5 separate regions of the Homo sapiens genome follow, and regions 1, 3, 4 and 5 are each linked to region 2. The links are contacts of gene promoters, found by promoter capture Hi-C in blood cells and fetal thymus (Javierre and others, 2016). All regions are on one chromosome and are shown on one strand. The core of a region is centred on a gene start or on the middle of the fragment in contact, and the rest is flanking DNA. Distances in the headings are between cores, read along the strand shown. Region 1 holds the start of ANGPTL6 (angiopoietin like 6). Region 2 holds the start of S1PR5 (sphingosine-1-phosphate receptor 5). Region 3 holds the start of COL5A3 (collagen type V alpha 3 chain). Region 4 holds the start of EIF3G (eukaryotic translation initiation factor 3 subunit G). Region 5 holds the start of CARM1 (coactivator associated arginine methyltransferase 1).

The links. Contacts are between HindIII fragments. The CHiCAGO score rates a contact against its expected background, and 5 or more counts as called.
Region 1: the fragment with the promoter of ANGPTL6 here is called in contact with the fragment with the promoter of S1PR5 in region 2 in 3 of 17 cell types (total CD4 T cells, non-activated CD4 T cells and activated CD4 T cells); the score reaches 10.9 in total CD4 T cells.
Region 3: a contact is called between the fragment with the promoter of COL5A3 here and the fragment with the promoter of S1PR5 in region 2, in 6 of 17 cell types (naive B cells, fetal thymus, total B cells and 3 more). The highest score is 8.3, in naive B cells.
Region 4: the fragment with the promoter of EIF3G here is called in contact with the fragment with the promoter of S1PR5 in region 2 in 8 of 17 cell types (activated CD4 T cells, naive CD8 T cells, naive CD4 T cells and 5 more); the score reaches 10.7 in activated CD4 T cells.
Region 5: a contact is called between the fragment with the promoter of CARM1 here and the fragment with the promoter of S1PR5 in region 2, in 1 of 17 cell types (neutrophils). The highest score is 10.6, in neutrophils.

What each region holds. Positions count from the first base shown.
Region 1 is chr19:10,100,969-10,103,941 of GRCh38, forward strand. ANGPTL6 (angiopoietin like 6) reads right to left here and starts at 1,710. Exons shown (of 6, transcript NM_031917.3): 1 at 1,600-1,710. RefSeq lists enhancers at 1,720-1,769, 1,840-1,889. The HindIII fragment of the contact is 11,381 bases long and covers 1-2,973 here.
Region 2 is chr19:10,516,079-10,518,778 of GRCh38, forward strand. It overlaps S1PR5 (sphingosine-1-phosphate receptor 5), which reads right to left and starts at 1,369. Exons shown (of 2, transcript NM_030760.5): 1 at 1,320-1,369. The HindIII fragment of the contact is 9,669 bases long and covers 187-2,700 here.
Region 3 is chr19:10,009,037-10,011,774 of GRCh38, forward strand. COL5A3 (collagen type V alpha 3 chain) reads right to left here and starts at 1,468. Exons shown (of 67, transcript NM_015719.4): 1 at 1,262-1,468. The coding sequence starts at 1,349. The HindIII fragment of the contact is 8,603 bases long and covers 1-2,738 here.
Region 4 is chr19:10,118,649-10,121,530 of GRCh38, forward strand. It overlaps EIF3G (eukaryotic translation initiation factor 3 subunit G), which reads right to left and starts at 1,251. Exons shown (of 11, transcript NM_003755.5): 1 at 1,192-1,251; 2 at 1,006-1,052; 3 at 440-523; 4 at 220-308; 5 at 20-79. The coding sequence starts at 1,211. RefSeq lists enhancers at 1-753, 754-1,509. The HindIII fragment of the contact is 4,736 bases long and covers 1-2,882 here.
Region 5 is chr19:10,869,994-10,873,028 of GRCh38, forward strand. It overlaps CARM1 (coactivator associated arginine methyltransferase 1), which reads left to right and starts at 1,560. Exons shown (of 16, transcript NM_199141.2): 1 at 1,560-1,929. The coding sequence starts at 1,710. RefSeq lists silencers at 820-1,609, 1,740-1,789, 1,880-2,089 and an enhancer at 2,830-3,009. The HindIII fragment of the contact is 21,723 bases long and covers 1-3,035 here.

The sequences.
Region 1 (2,973 bases), core at 460-2,959, 410 kb before region 2:
GAGGCTGAGGTGGGAGGATCACTTGAGGCCAGGAGTTTGAGACCAGCTTGGCTAACGTGGCGAAACCCTGTCTCTACTGAAAATACAAAAATTAGCCAGGCGTAGTGGCACGCGCCTGTAGTCTCAGCTACTCAGGAGGCTGAGACACAAGAATCACTTGAACCCGGAAGGCAGAGGTTGCAGTGAGCCATGATTGCACCACTGCACTCCAGCCTGGGCAATAGAGCGAGACTCTGTCTCAAAAAAAAATAAAATAGAGGAGTCAGGAAAGGCCTCACAGAAGAAGTGACACTTGACTGGAACAGTGCCTCATGCCTGTAATTTCAGCACTTTGGGAGGCCAAGGCAGGAGGATTGCTTGAGCCTAGGAGTTTGAGACCAGCCTGGCCAATATGGTGAAAGTCCATTTCTACTAAATATAAAAATAAAAATAAAATAAAGAATAAGGGACACTTTCACAAAGACCTGATGGAAGAGAGAGAAGAGGAAGAGCATTCCAGGCAGAGAGAACAGCAGGTGCAAAGGCCCGGAGATTGCACCCAAGAAATGGCAGAAAGGGGCCAGGCACGGTGGCTCACGCCTGTAATCCCAGCACTTTGGGAGGCCGAGGCGGGAGGATCACCTGAGGTCGAGAGTTCAAGACCAGCCTGGCCAACATGGTGAAACCCCGTCTCTACTAAAAATACAAAAATTAGCTGGGCATGGTAATGCATGCCTGTAATCCCAGCTACTACTCAGGAGGCTGAGGTGGGAGAGTCACTTGAACTCAGGAGGCCGATGTTGCAGTGAGCAGAGATTGCGCCATTGCACTCCAACCTGGGCGACAGAGCAAGGCTCAAAAAAAAAAAAAAAAAAAAGGCCAGGTGCGGTGGCTCACGCCTGTAATCCCAGCACTTGGGAGGCCAAGGCAGGTGGATCACGGGGTCAGGAGATCGAGACCATCCTGGCTAACACAGTGAAATTCCGTCTCTACTAAAAATACAAAAAAAAAAAAAAAAATTAGCCGGGCATGGTGGCGAGCGCCTGTAGCCCCAGCCACTCCAGAGACTGAGGCAGGAGAATGGCGTGAACCCGGAAGGCGGAGCTTGCAGTGAGCTGAGATCGCGCCACTGCACTCCAGCCTGGGTGACAGAGCGAGACTCTGTCTCAAAAAAAAAAAAAAAAAAAAAAAGAAATGGCAGAAATGTCTATGAGGCCGGAAGAGAGAAGGGGGAAGCAGGAGGAGGTAAGAAGTGTCAGGGCAAAGTGTGAAGGGTCCTGTGGGCCCGGAGGAGGACTTGGGTTTTACTCTGAGTCAGGCAGGAGCCATGGAGGGTTCTGGGCTGGAGATGGCCACATTTACTTCTGGACTCAGACACCAAGCAGGGGCTCACAAGGATCCGGGGGTAGGGTCCTCTCTTTGTCCCCGATCACTGACATGCCCCACCCCCCACAACAGAGATTGAGCAACCCCCCAGAACTGGGACGTGTGTATAACACCCGCTGCCTTTTACACTCTCAGCCTGGGGTGGCGGGGTGGCCTGGGGGCCCCCAAGCCAAGCTGTGGTCGGAGTTTCCCCACAGTGAGAATCAACCTCCACCTACCTTCCCACCCTCTCACCTCTGATGCCCAAGACCCTGAATCCAGCGAAGCTCACAGAACACACAAGAAGTCCAAGGAAGAGCCGAGGGTCCAGTGGGGCCTCTGAGCTAGAGACGGGGAGAGGGCAGTGGGACAGAAGGAGAGAGGAGGCTTGGTAACCACTCCCCAGCCCCCAGAGCCTGGGAGTGGAGCTGGGATGCTGGGCCCAGGAGCCCAAACTATAAATATTTAGCATTTCCCGAATGAGAAATGAGACAGAATTGCCAGACCCCCCTGCCCAGGCCACCAGAGCCTGATAACACAGGTCAGTGTCCTGGACATCCCTCCCTTTCCCCCACACCCTCCACTGCAGAGCCCAGAGCGTGGGAGGCTGCAGGCCCTGGGGCAGCCAGGCGTGATCCCAGCCCCAGACACGCACACACCACACATAGAAAGAGGAACATCACTGGGGACTTACCGTGTGTAGGGCTTGGCTCTAAACTCTCCACACCTTTTACGTATTTGATCCTTACAACCTGAGCTGGATTCTGTATGTACCCTCATTTTACAGCAGGGAAAACTGAGGCTCAGAGAGGGTAAGCAACTTGCCTGCGGTCACACAGCCAAAAAGAGACCAGGATGGGAGCCAGCCAAGGTAGCTTGACTCAGAAACTCACACATGTACACCACAGCTGTCACACACATATGGGCACATAACAGAGTGGACACAAACACACACACACACATTTGCACGCACGCACACATTAACACCCAGCGAAAGTCTGGGTGCAGTGGCTCATGCCTGAAAGCCAGCACTTTGGGAGGCCGGGGCAGGTGGATTACCTGAGGTCAGGAGTTCGAAACCATCCTTGCCAACATGCTAAAACCCCGTCTCTACTAACAATACAAAAATTAGCTGGGCATGGTGGCATGCGCCAGTAATCCCAGCTACGCGGGAGGCTGAGGCAGGAGAATTGCTTGAAGCCAGGAGGTGGAGGTTGCAGTAAGCCGAGATCGAGCAACCGCATGCACTCCAGCCTGGGCGACAAGACTGAAATTCCATCTCAAAAATAAATAAATAAATAAATAAATAAATAATAAATAAATAATAATAAAGTGAGGAATTAATTAATTAAAATAAAAAATAAATATAAAAGACACAGCTGTAAATTTTTAAATTGTGATAGAAACAATATATTCTTAAAGTGAAAACCCTACCTCAGTTACATGTGATTTATGTTTTTTGGATTAATCTGGATTTTATAATTAGAAATAAAAATGTAAGGCTGGGCGCGGTGGCTCACGCCTGTAATCCCAGCACTTTGGGAGGCCAAGGTGGGCAGATCACGAGGTCAGCAATTCGAGACCAGCCTGGCCAAGATGGTGAAACCCCGTCTCTACTAAAAATACAAA
Region 2 (2,700 bases), core at 119-2,618:
GGGAAACTAAAAAATACATCATACAGGAACAGAGTGACGCAGGCAGAAAAACACAGCGACCAAAATTCAGTCACACGAATACAGGGTCTCCCACCCAGTGGCACAGGCCACAATTTCACAACCTCCACTCACACTAGCCTGGGGCCCAGTGCACCACACTCCACACTCTTGTCTCACTGCATACAAAGCTTTTTCCTGCCAAAACCCCCTCATCCACCCAAAACCCCATGAGAAAGTTGCTCCTTGGCCAGGCACAGTGGCTTTCGCCTGTAATCCCAGCACTTTGGGAGGCCGAGGTGGGAGTATCACTTGAGCCCAGGAGTTCGACACCAGCTTGGGCAACATACTAAGACTTCATCTCTACAAAAAAATTTAAAAATTAGCCAGGTGTGGTGTTATGCCCCTATAGTCCCAGCTACTCAAGAGACTGAGGCGGGAGGATCACTTGAGCCTGGGAGGCCGAGGCTGCAGTGAGCCATGATCGCACCCCTGCTCTCCAGCCTGGGTGACAAGAGAGAAACTCCGTCTCAAAAAAAAAAAAAAAAAAAAAAGTTGATCCTATTCACTCATTTTACTAAGGCAGAGCCTGAGGACAGGAGAGAGAATCCACAAGAGGCAAACAGACTCTTACAGAGGGGCACACATGTCATTAAACTGTAATAACACTCCTCACCTGCCTCTGTGACCTTATTAATCCCCACTTCCTTTAGTCCTAATTTACAGATGAGAAAACTGAAGCTCAAAAGAAATGCTTCGTATCGAAGCAGGCGCAAAGGTTTCCATGCTCCCACACAAACATCCATGCACAAATAGTCCCCATGCAAGTCCAGATGAGAAAGCCAAGGCCTGGGGAGGGGAATGGATCTCTTTTGCACAAGGCAGGGATGCGGACATCCCAGAGAGCTTCAGTCACACACAGAGAATCAAGGCAGGCAAACATAGACAGGAAGTCGCTGGCTCACCCATGCTGGAGGTGGGGAGCCCAAATACAGGGAGACAGGGTTACACATGCTCTGAGGGGGAGGCCAACCCCATCCGCCCAGCTTGCCCGGCAGCAGGACTGAAGTATGGAAACTTGCAGTGGCCCGGCCAGGAGGGGGTGGCCAGGGGATTCCAGCCACCTTCACCCCGTATCCCAGGTCCTGCACCCAGCTGGGGAGCCCCCAGCTTCCCCCTCCCCAGAGGCCTCCAGGAAAAGTTCGGAGAACTCCCTGCAAGGAGTGGTGCGCCTTTTTAGACCGGGAAAGTGGCCGCCAGGGCGACCCCCTCCGGGTCAGGCCCAGCCCAGCGCCCCCAAAGGTCCAGTGCAGTCCACTCACTCTGCGCCCTGGTCGTGCGCCACCCGCAGTCGCGCTGCCTTGAACCGAGTGAGCGGACGCCGCTCCGGGGGCGGGGCTGGAGCTGGCAGGCGAGGGGGCGGGCCAGCGACGCAAAGGGCCGGCGGTCGCCAGCAGTTGCCCCCTCCCCTTGGGTCCCGGGCACTCAGCCCATGGCTGCCAGCCTGTGCCACTCGCCGCGGCACCGGAGCGCGCCCCGGCGGCGACTGGCACAGGCGAGCCCTCAGCTGCCCCCTCCGGGCCTGGGCTGTCCTCCCAGGGACGCTCCATCGCGGTGGGAGGACTCGGAGAGGCGGGAAAGGGAGGGTTCTGCAGCAGGGCGGTCGCAGCCTGAGCCTCTTCTCCCCAGCGGAGGGGTCTCCTCTGTCCTGGGTGTCCGGGCACTGCGCCCTCCCATTGCCCACCCACCTGTGAACTGAGCTTCCTGGGCTGCACCCCAAGGACGCCCCGTCGATGATTCGGAGGGGTCTTCAGTGGGTTGCTTAGCAGGAGTCTTCAGTGGGGGCCACCTTAGCCTGAGTCCTCTCCCACCAGCAGATAGGTTCCCGCTGCTCCCGGGCACAGGCCCCTCCCAATTTCCCGCTCCCGCCCCCGGCTCAGGGCGAGTGGGGGTGGGGCGGGCCCGGGCAGGATTGTGATGGGAACTTGCCGCTCCTCAGATAAGGAGGGTCTCTCCTGTCCCACCCCCTGGATTCCGTGTTCCCCCGACCGATTCTCTCCCACCCTTATCGCTGACGACAAAGTGATTTACTCATTAATGGTGTTTCTGGGCTGTGTCCTTAGCAGACAGTAAACCCCAGCAATGTAAGAATTTCTTTTTTTTTTTTTTTTTTGAGACAAGATCTTGCTCTGTGGCCCAGAGTGGAGTGCAGTGGCAACATCATAAGTCACTGCAGTCTCGACCTCCGCGGCTCAAGCCATCCTCCCATCTCAGCCGGCTGAACGTAGCTGCTGGGACTCCAGTCGCTTGCAACCATGCCCAGATAATGAATGAGTGTCTCCCTCACTTCCTCTGTATCTCTCTCAGGAGGATCTCAGAGTCTCTCGCCTGCGTGTCTCTTTGTCTCTGCGTGTCTCTTTGCCTCTGCGTGTCTCTTTGTTGCTGTCTGTGATGCTCTCCCACGCCTCTCCCAGGCCACTGCTCCTCCAACGACCAGTCCCGCTGGCCCCGAAACGCCCCCACCCCGACTTCCCAGGAACTTCCAGACGGTCCCAGCTCTTCCACCCTCAGATTCAGGAAGGGAGGCTGGGTCCCGCTGCTGCGACCTTCTCCAGGACCGTGCCCTTTGCCCCTGATGCTTCAGGCCCTGCTGGCCGCGGGTGGGGTGAGGGCGCCCCAGGAGAGATGAGCCAGAGGCTGAGA
Region 3 (2,738 bases), core at 218-2,717, 510 kb before region 2:
AGAGTGGATGCCTAAGATTCCATGACCATGTGGATGTGTGAGCGTGGGAATGCGGCATAGTCCAATCAGGGATTAACCATATGGACAGGCACCTTCCTGGACTCCAAAGTAAGAAGTGTGCTGTGGTGTGTGTGTGTGTGTGTGTGTGTGTGTGTGTGTGTGTGTGTGTTGGGAGACTGAGCTCACCTTAGAAAGGGATTTCCAGGAGGACCTAGTCTAGGGTCTCTCAGATCAGGGAAGCCCCATCTCCAACACTTGAGAAGCTACGCCATCCCCTGACTCCCGAAGCGCCCCCCACTCTGAACCCTGAGGGGCGGGACAGGGCGCCCAGCCAGATGCGCGCAGCTGGGCGTGCGTCAGCGCTGACTCACCCATCCGGCGGCCCCCGGGACCCCTTGGGGGCTCCTGAGAAATTCCTCGGGAAAAACACCCAAGGCTCCAGCAGCTGGGGTGGGGAGGGGGGGAGCAACTTCCACTCCTGCCCCGCCCTGCGCCCCGCCCCGTCTCGCCCCTCACCGCGGCCCTCCCCGAAGCCCTGTCCATGGTGCTGATCGCGGCTCTGGGGACCGCGGGGTGGGGGAGGGGGCAACAGGGAGGGAGGGGAGGAGATGGGCGCTCGCCAATTTGGGGCAGAGGAGGAAAAGGGAGAATGAGGTGAAGCCATTTAAAGAGACGCAAAGGAAACTGTGGGTTCCCGAAGAGCACCCCCCAATACTTGTCCCCACCCACCTTCATCCTCATGGGCAATTATTTGCACCCAAAAATCATAACTACACCCCTCATAGCGGCACTCAGAGACACACAATCACACGCATAACCACTCACACGGTTACCCTCGAAAATCAGCACATAGACAAGAGCACAAGTGCATACTCACCTGTCGCAATACACACCGTCCCAGCACTGCCCTGTCACTCACAGTCACACTATCACCATCAACCTCCACACGCAAGCACATACGCAACTTCACTCCAAATGCACACACATGCTACACACACATACACACATGCACACACCTGCACATTGCATGCATTCCCACGCGCTCGCCAGAAAACGCACTCACACATCCCCACCCCCACCCCGAGCTGTCACACCCACAAATCACCCAGAGTCAGATACTCATGCGCCCACATCACACCGGGGCCGCACGCGGCGCCCACGCCCTTCCCCTCCACGCCCCTCCACCCCCCTCCACCCCTCGCTCTTTTAGAGCCTCTCTGAGTCGTGGACCCTGGGTCCCATCTCTTCCCTCCCGGCTCACCGGCCTGCGTCCCCGGCAGAAGCTGCAGCGCGGCCAGGAGCAGGCAGAGACCGGCCCGCGGCTGGCCCAGGTCCCGGCGGTTCCCCATCCCGGCGGGGCCCACGGGCAAGGCGGGGAACCAGTCGGGGCGGCTGCGGGGCGCGGCGACTTCTCGGGCTCGGTGCAGTCACTCGCGGCGGCCGCTCCTCTCAGGGTCCGCGGGAAACTGCCCGAGACCCCGCCCTGGCCTCGCCCTGCGCTCCAGCGCCTGGCCAGGCGGGGCTTTTTGGAGGGGGAGCGCTGACAGCTGGACTGGGAAGTTGGGAAACTTTGTGCTGAGGGCTGATTGGCTGGCTGGGGTGGAGCCCAGCGCCAGGAGCTGGGTTGTTCCTGCCCCACCCCACTGTGGAGGAGAAGGGTCACTCCCACCCAGCCCTAGAGTTCGAGGGTTCCAGTCTTACCCCAAACCTTTTCCGCCTAGCAGATCCCCTCAAAGGAGACCTTAACCTCATTCAAGACTTCAGCCTCCATCCAGGCCCTAGAATTAGGAGGAGGTGCAGCTTTATACCAAATCTTTTTTATTTTCTATTATTTTTACATTTTATTTTGGAGACAGGGTCTTGATCTGTCACCCAAGCTGGAGTGCAGTGGTGCAATCATAGCTCACTGCAGCCTCCAACTCCTGCGTTCAAGCCATCCACCTGCCTCAGCCTCCTGAGAAGCAGGTACCACAGGCACACACTGCCACACCCAGCTAATTTTAAAATATGTATATTTTGTAGAGACCGGGATCTTGCTATGCTGCCCAGGCCGGTCTTGAACTTCTGGTCTCAAGCGATCCTCCGGCCTTGCCCTCCCAAAGCGCTGGAGTTACAGGCATGAGCCACCGCCCCTGGCACCAAGTCCTTTCTGCCTCACTCAGGCCCCCAACTGGGGTCCCAACCTCACCCCGAACTCTCACTCACCTACCTGCTTTATCCTCAGTCCCTCAGCTGCACAATAGGAGGTACCAGCCTCAGCCCCAAAGCCTTTCCTTCAAGTCCCTAACGGGTCCTCATCCCACCTCAAATCTCACCCCAGATCCCAAAATGGGGTCCCCAGCCTTACTCCAAACCTTCATCTGTCCACTCAAATCCCTAAGTCACGTGTCCTGGTCCCAAATTCTCACCACAGATCCCAAAACACAGTTTTCACTTTCCCCAAATTCTTGATTCCTCAAATAAAGGGTCTCATCTCCATCCCTAACCCTCATCTCCCCCCGCCCCAACTCAGGTCTCCAGTGGATGCCCCGGCCTCAATCCCAAATCCCCACCAAATGAGGGAGTCTGAGCTGGGTGCGGTGGCTCATGCCTGTAATCCCAGCATTTTGAGAGGCTGGGGCGGGCAGATCGCTTGAGTCCAGGAGTTAGAGATCAGCTGGCCAACATGGCGAAACCCCATCTCTACTAAAAATACAAAAATTAGCCAGGCATTGTGACTGGCGCCTGTAGTCCCAGCT
Region 4 (2,882 bases), core at 1-2,500, 400 kb before region 2:
TGGGGAAGAAGAGCCTCACCTTCCTCCTTGCGACAGCCTTTGAAGCCTTCCGGGTCTCAATCCTGAAGGTGCGGACAATCTGAGGATGGGAGGGGAGAAGGGTCAGGCTCCTGGGACCAAGGGATCTCCTTTATCAACCTCCTCAACACACCCCACCCCATTCCGGTCTATGGGCCCCCAAGCACAAGGGTCCCCACTCCCTGCACCCCCCACCCTCACCTTGAACTTCTTGCCATCCTCATCTATCTTGTACTCTGTCACTGTCTTTATGTTTCCGTTGATGACCTCCTTGGGAGGCGGCAGTGGAGCTGGCAGAAGGGGAAAAACAGAGAAAGACTGAGCCCTGGGTCATGGGGATCAGGAGCGGCAGGGCTGGAGGGAGAGGCAGCCCGGACACCGAGTGGCAGTCCTCACTCACCTCCCGGCAGTCCTCACTCACCTCCCGGCAGTAGCTCTGGCTCTGGGCTGGTGTCACCTGTGGCCAGAGGGATCCCCTTGAGGAGCTCGCTGGTGACACATTTGTCTGCAAAAGGCAGCGTAGGAAGGAGGAGTCAGCTCCAGGGGCAGGAGCTCCCCAGCTGCGATGGAAGGGCTTTTGGGATGACGCCTACAGCAAAAGCGGAGAAAGGCAGGCCAAGGGCAGAGGGCTGGCCAGGCAACGCACTGGGATGGCCCTGTGGGGACTCGGAGTGGCAAGGATGGGAGATCCCTCGTAGGAAGGTGGGTGCCAGGCCATGAAGCCAACCAGGCGCCAGTAGAGAAACAGGAGACGGGAGATTACAACTTCCTCCCTGGAGGGGAACAGCTGGGAGGCAGTGGCATGGGAGGAAGAGGGACCCGCCGGGGAACACCTGGAGTTGGCAACAGGCGGGTCCCAAGGAGGATGGCGCGGGGCAGGGGCAGACCGTGACGGGGTACACGGTGCCAGACTGGGAGATGGAAGCAGGCGGCAGTCACACGGCTTGGGCCTGGCCGCGAATACCCCGGGCGACCGTGTACACTTACCGTCCTCCCCCTCCTCCTCCACCTGGTCGGCCCAACTGGGCTTCGAACTGCGGAAACAAATGTGTGGGGAACGAAGATTAAGTCAGCCAGGCCCGGCTCCCGCAGCCTCGGCGTACCCAGGCCCCATAATACTTCCCAGAGCACCCCAACCGCTTCCCGTGCCCCTTTCCGCGATCGCCGACTCACTCAAAGTCTCCAGTAGGCATCGCAAAAAGTATTCTCCACGCAGCCCAAGCCCGGCCAGAGAGCGGAAGCGGGCGAAAACGAGACTTCCGGTGCCGCCGTCGCCGCCTAGAGGGGCCCAGCCGCGGCACCCACAGCGACACCTGCGGACGGAGGTGGAGGCGCACGCGGCTGTGTATGCTACTGGGCGCTGCTGGTACCAGAGTAGGGCCAGCGGGGGCAGAGGCTGATTTCAGGGCTGGTCCTATTAACCTTTAAAATTAAAATAGGCCAGGCGAGGTGGCTCAAGCCTGTAATCCTCGCACTTTGGGAGGTCGAGGCGGGCGGATCACCTGAGGTAAGGAGTTCGAGACCAGCTTGGCCAACGTGGCGAAACCCCGTCACTACTAAAAACACAAAAATTAACTGGGCGTGGTAGTGCGTGCCTGCAGTTCCAGCTACTCGGGAGGCTGAGGCAGGAGAATCGCTTGAACCCGGGAGGCGGAGGTTGCAGTGAGCCGAGATCGCGCCACTGCACTCCAGCCTGGCGACAGAGCGAGACACCGTCTCAAAAAAAAAAAAAAAAAAAAAATTAGCCAGGCGTGGTGGTGGGCACCTGTAATCCCAGCTACTCGGGAGGCTGAGGCGGGAGAATCGCTTGAACCCAGGAGGCGGAGGCTGCAGTGAGCCGAGATCGCACCACTGCACTCCAGCCTGGGGCTGCAGAGTGAGACTCCGTCTCAGAAAAATAAGTAAAATTAAAATAAATAATAATAATCATAAAGCTCACTTATTGAGTGCTTATTGTATATGAAGCATGGTGAGGAGGATATTACTTCCATTTTACAGCTGAAGAAACTGAGGCTCAGACTGGGTGCAGTGGCGCCTGCCTGTAATCCCGCACTTTGGGAGACCAAGGCGTGGGGATGGCTTGAGGCCAGGAGTTTGAGACAAGCCTGGGCAACATAGTGAGACCCCTGTCTCTAAAAAAGAAAAAAAGAAAAAGAAAGAAAAAAGAAACCAAAGTTCGGGGAAAACAATCCTTTTGCTTAAACTGTTCCTTGTCTTCTTTCCCGATCCCAATGATTCAGATGCCAAGTGGCCTCCCCTCAGCCACTCCCTCTTCTTTTCTTTGTAGCATTCTTGGCTTTCCGGTATAATTTTGTGCATTTACTTGTTTATTGCTCAGCTCCTTGCTCTAAGCACAACCGTCCTCAGTCGAAGTGATTCATGATGACTCCCCAGGGGAAAAAACTGGTCCTCAGGGAGGAAAAAAATCTTAGATATTGTGGTCTTCCAAAGCCAGCTCTATCAGACAGCATTTATCCCTAAGTATTTAGTTTCTGCCTTTAGGGAGATATTAAATGTAATTAAATTGAAATTAATTTAGTTGATGTAAATTCAATTTTAGGATAATTCGGGTTTTCTCCTAAGAAGGGTGATAATGAACAAAAAACGTTTGACAATGTCGGACGCAGTGGCTCACGCCTGTAATCCCAGCACTTTGAGAGGCCAAGATGGGCAGATCTCTTGAAGTCAGGAGTTCGAGACCAGCCTGGGCAATATGGCGAAACCCCGTCTTTACTAAAAATACAAAAATTAGCTGGGTGTGGTGGCCCGCGCCTGTAATCCCAGAACTTTGGGAGACTGAGGCAGAAGGATCACTTCAGCCCTGGAATTCGACCAGCCTGGGCAACACATAGTGAGACCCCCCA
Region 5 (3,035 bases), core at 310-2,809, 350 kb after region 2:
GGGTTTAGGAGGTGGAATGACAGGGGCTACGGGTGAGGGACATGAAGGAGAATGAGGGCCCCTCGCAGTGGCTCACACCTATAATCCCAGCACTTTGGGAGGCCGAGGCAGGGGGTTGCTTGAGCCCAGGAGGTTGAGGCTGCAGTAAGCTATGATGGCACCACTGCACTCTAGCCTGGGCAACACAGTGAGACCCTGTCTCAAAAAACAAAAGGGGCCGGGCGCGGTGGCTCATGCCTGTAGGCCCAGCACTTTGGGATGCCGAGGCGGGCGGATCACCTGAAGTCAGGAGTTCAAGACCAGCCTGACCAACATGGTGAAACCTCGTCTCTACTAAAAATAAAAAATTAGCTGGGCGTGGTAGAGCATGCCTGTAGTCCCAGCTACTCGGGAGGCTGAGGCAGGAGAATCACTTGAACCCGGGAGGCGGAGGTTGCGGTGAGCTGAGATCGAGCCATTGCACTCCAGCCTGGGAGACAGAGCGAGACTCCGTCTCAAAGAAAAAAAAAAAAAAAAAAAAGGAATGAGGCGTAAATGAGGTCTAGGGAAGAGTTAAAGCTGGAGTGCTAGGAAGTGGCCCAAGCTCACTGGGTCGCCCAAAAGAGATGGGGCCACCCAAAATGAAGGGGGATGCAGAGAGAAGACGGGTTTGTGTGGCGGGAGAGGGGCCCTGCGCCGGGCCAGGCTGGACTCAGCATCGTTGGAGGAGGGGCTGAGAGAGGAGGGGGTCAAAGGATATCTTGTGCGAAAGGAGACAGTCAAACATTAAGGATTAAGAAGGCAATGTGGGCAGAGATGATGGGGAAGGGAGGAGGAGCGGTCGAATGTCGGGGAGGGGTCCTTTCAACCGGGCTCAGGTTGCTCCTGGAGGCCAGGGCTCATCGGAAATCGTCGGTGCGGGGGCGGTGGGGGGAAGGGTTGGGGGCGAGGCCCGGGCGCTGGCCACGCCCTTTCCCCCGCCCATTCCCCAGAGCGGGGCGGCTGACAAAGCGAGTCCGGGTGGGAGGGCGCGGGCAGGCACGGGGGCGGGGCCTCGTCGCGGCTGGGCCACGCCTCCCTGAGGGCTGCCTCACAAAGCCGGGCGGGCCCGGGGGGGTGGGGCCCAGTCTCAGGGGCGTGTCCAGGTCGGGGCAGGGAAGCCGCATCACGACGCGCGGCTGCTTGTGTGGGGCGGGGTACAGGGCGTGTCCACGCGGCCGAGCACCGCCCCCGCCGTCCCCGCACCGCCTCACTCGAAAGCAGCCGTTAATGAGGCGCCGGCCTGGGGGCGGGGCCCAGGCCTCCGAGGGGCGTGCCCGCGCGCCCGAGCACCGCCCCCGACGTACCCTCCCGCCCCGCAGTTCCCGGGCGGTGGAGCCACCTCACAAAGCGGCGACCGTTCTCGCGGGGCGGGGCGTAGCCGGTCCCGCCCCACGGGGTGCCCTCTCGTTCGCTCGCTAGCTCCCCGCGCCCAGGACGGCCGGCAGAGGGCGCTGCGCCACGGGGCCGGGCCGCGGCGACGGTGGCGGCGGCGGCGGCGAGGCGGCGCGTGGCCGGCAGGCGGCGCTGCCCGGCTCGGCCTCGGCCTGCACGGCGGCTGCGGCGGCGGTAGCGGCAGCGGCGGCGGCGGCGGCGGCGGCGGCGGCGGCGGCGGCGGCGGCGGCGGCAGCGGCGGCGGCCTGGGCCCGGGCGCAGCGGCGGCGGCGGCGGGGCCTGGAGCCGGATCTAAGATGGCAGCGGCGGCGGCGGCGGTGGGGCCGGGCGCGGGCGGCGCGGGGTCGGCGGTCCCGGGCGGCGCGGGGCCCTGCGCTACCGTGTCGGTGTTCCCCGGCGCCCGCCTCCTCACCATCGGCGACGCGAACGGCGAGATCCAGCGGCACGCGGAGCAGCAGGCGCTGCGCCTCGAGGTGCGCGCCGGCCCGGACTCGGCGGGCATCGCCCTCTACAGCCGTGAGTACGGGGCCCCGGGGCAGGCGCAGGGCCGGGGCTGCTCACGAGGCCGGCCCGGGGCGGGGGCCGGCGGGGAGGGGCCCTGAGCGCGGGGGCCTGGCGTGGGGTCCCCGGGACTGAGCCGGTGGCCTGCAGGGAGCGACCGTGGAGGGCCGGTGCCAGGGGACAGACAGAGAAAAGAGGGCGTGCGTGGTGGCCGGAGGGGCAAGGTGCCCAGAGTGAGCAAGGGAGCGCGAAATGGGGAGTGAAGGGCCTGAGATTTGGGAGGGGTGGGTGAGCAGGAAGTGGGGGGCTCTGAGTGGAAGGGGAATTTGGAGGACGCCAGGCGTGGTGGGCTTAAGCGTGGGGGAGGGAGGTCCGGGGTGCGGGAGAGGTGGGCGTCTCGGGGGCGGGCGTGGCCGCCTCTGCAGGGAGGAGGGTGGGGCGTGGGCGGCCCGGGATCCCTCTGGGGACCCCCTGGATAGCTCAGGACGGTTGGAAAGTGTTTGCTGGTCTGGGGCGCCCGCGAGTACCGAGTTCCACCGCTGTGCGAGGTGTGGCGTTCAGGACCCCCGAATGGGAAACTTCAGGATCTGGGGAGAGGGCCCATGCGGGGACGGTGGGAGCCGCAGGGTGAGCTCCTCGTGGAAACGTGGACGGGACGGGCCCCTTCCTGATGCCGGGCTTCGAAGTAAGAGCTAACAGCCTCCTCCCATCTTCTTTTGGGGGATGTGAGAAGCTGGTTACATTTTCCGAAGCTGCTTTCAAAACTGACATTTCACTGGGGGGAAAAGAAAATCACAAATGCGTTTGCCAGCACCCCCCACCCCCGCTCCCAGTCTTTGTAGTTCATTCTTCTTCTTGTTACTCCTTCTTATCTCTTCTCTTTGATTCCTTGTTCACATTTTGCTACTCTGTGTCATTTGGCTTTGTCTTTCAGGGCTTCTTGCACTGATGCCCTGGGGAACCCCTCAGGAGGCCTCTAGCTAGCTTGGGTCCTGTGTGAATTTTTTGCCACTTTGGAAACGGCCCGATTAAAGGAAAGCCCGAGGAGCAGTCCGTTCACACTGGGTTTTCCCTGCACCTCGACTTTGAAAACGTGGACTAAAGGAGTTGTGTCTGCTGTC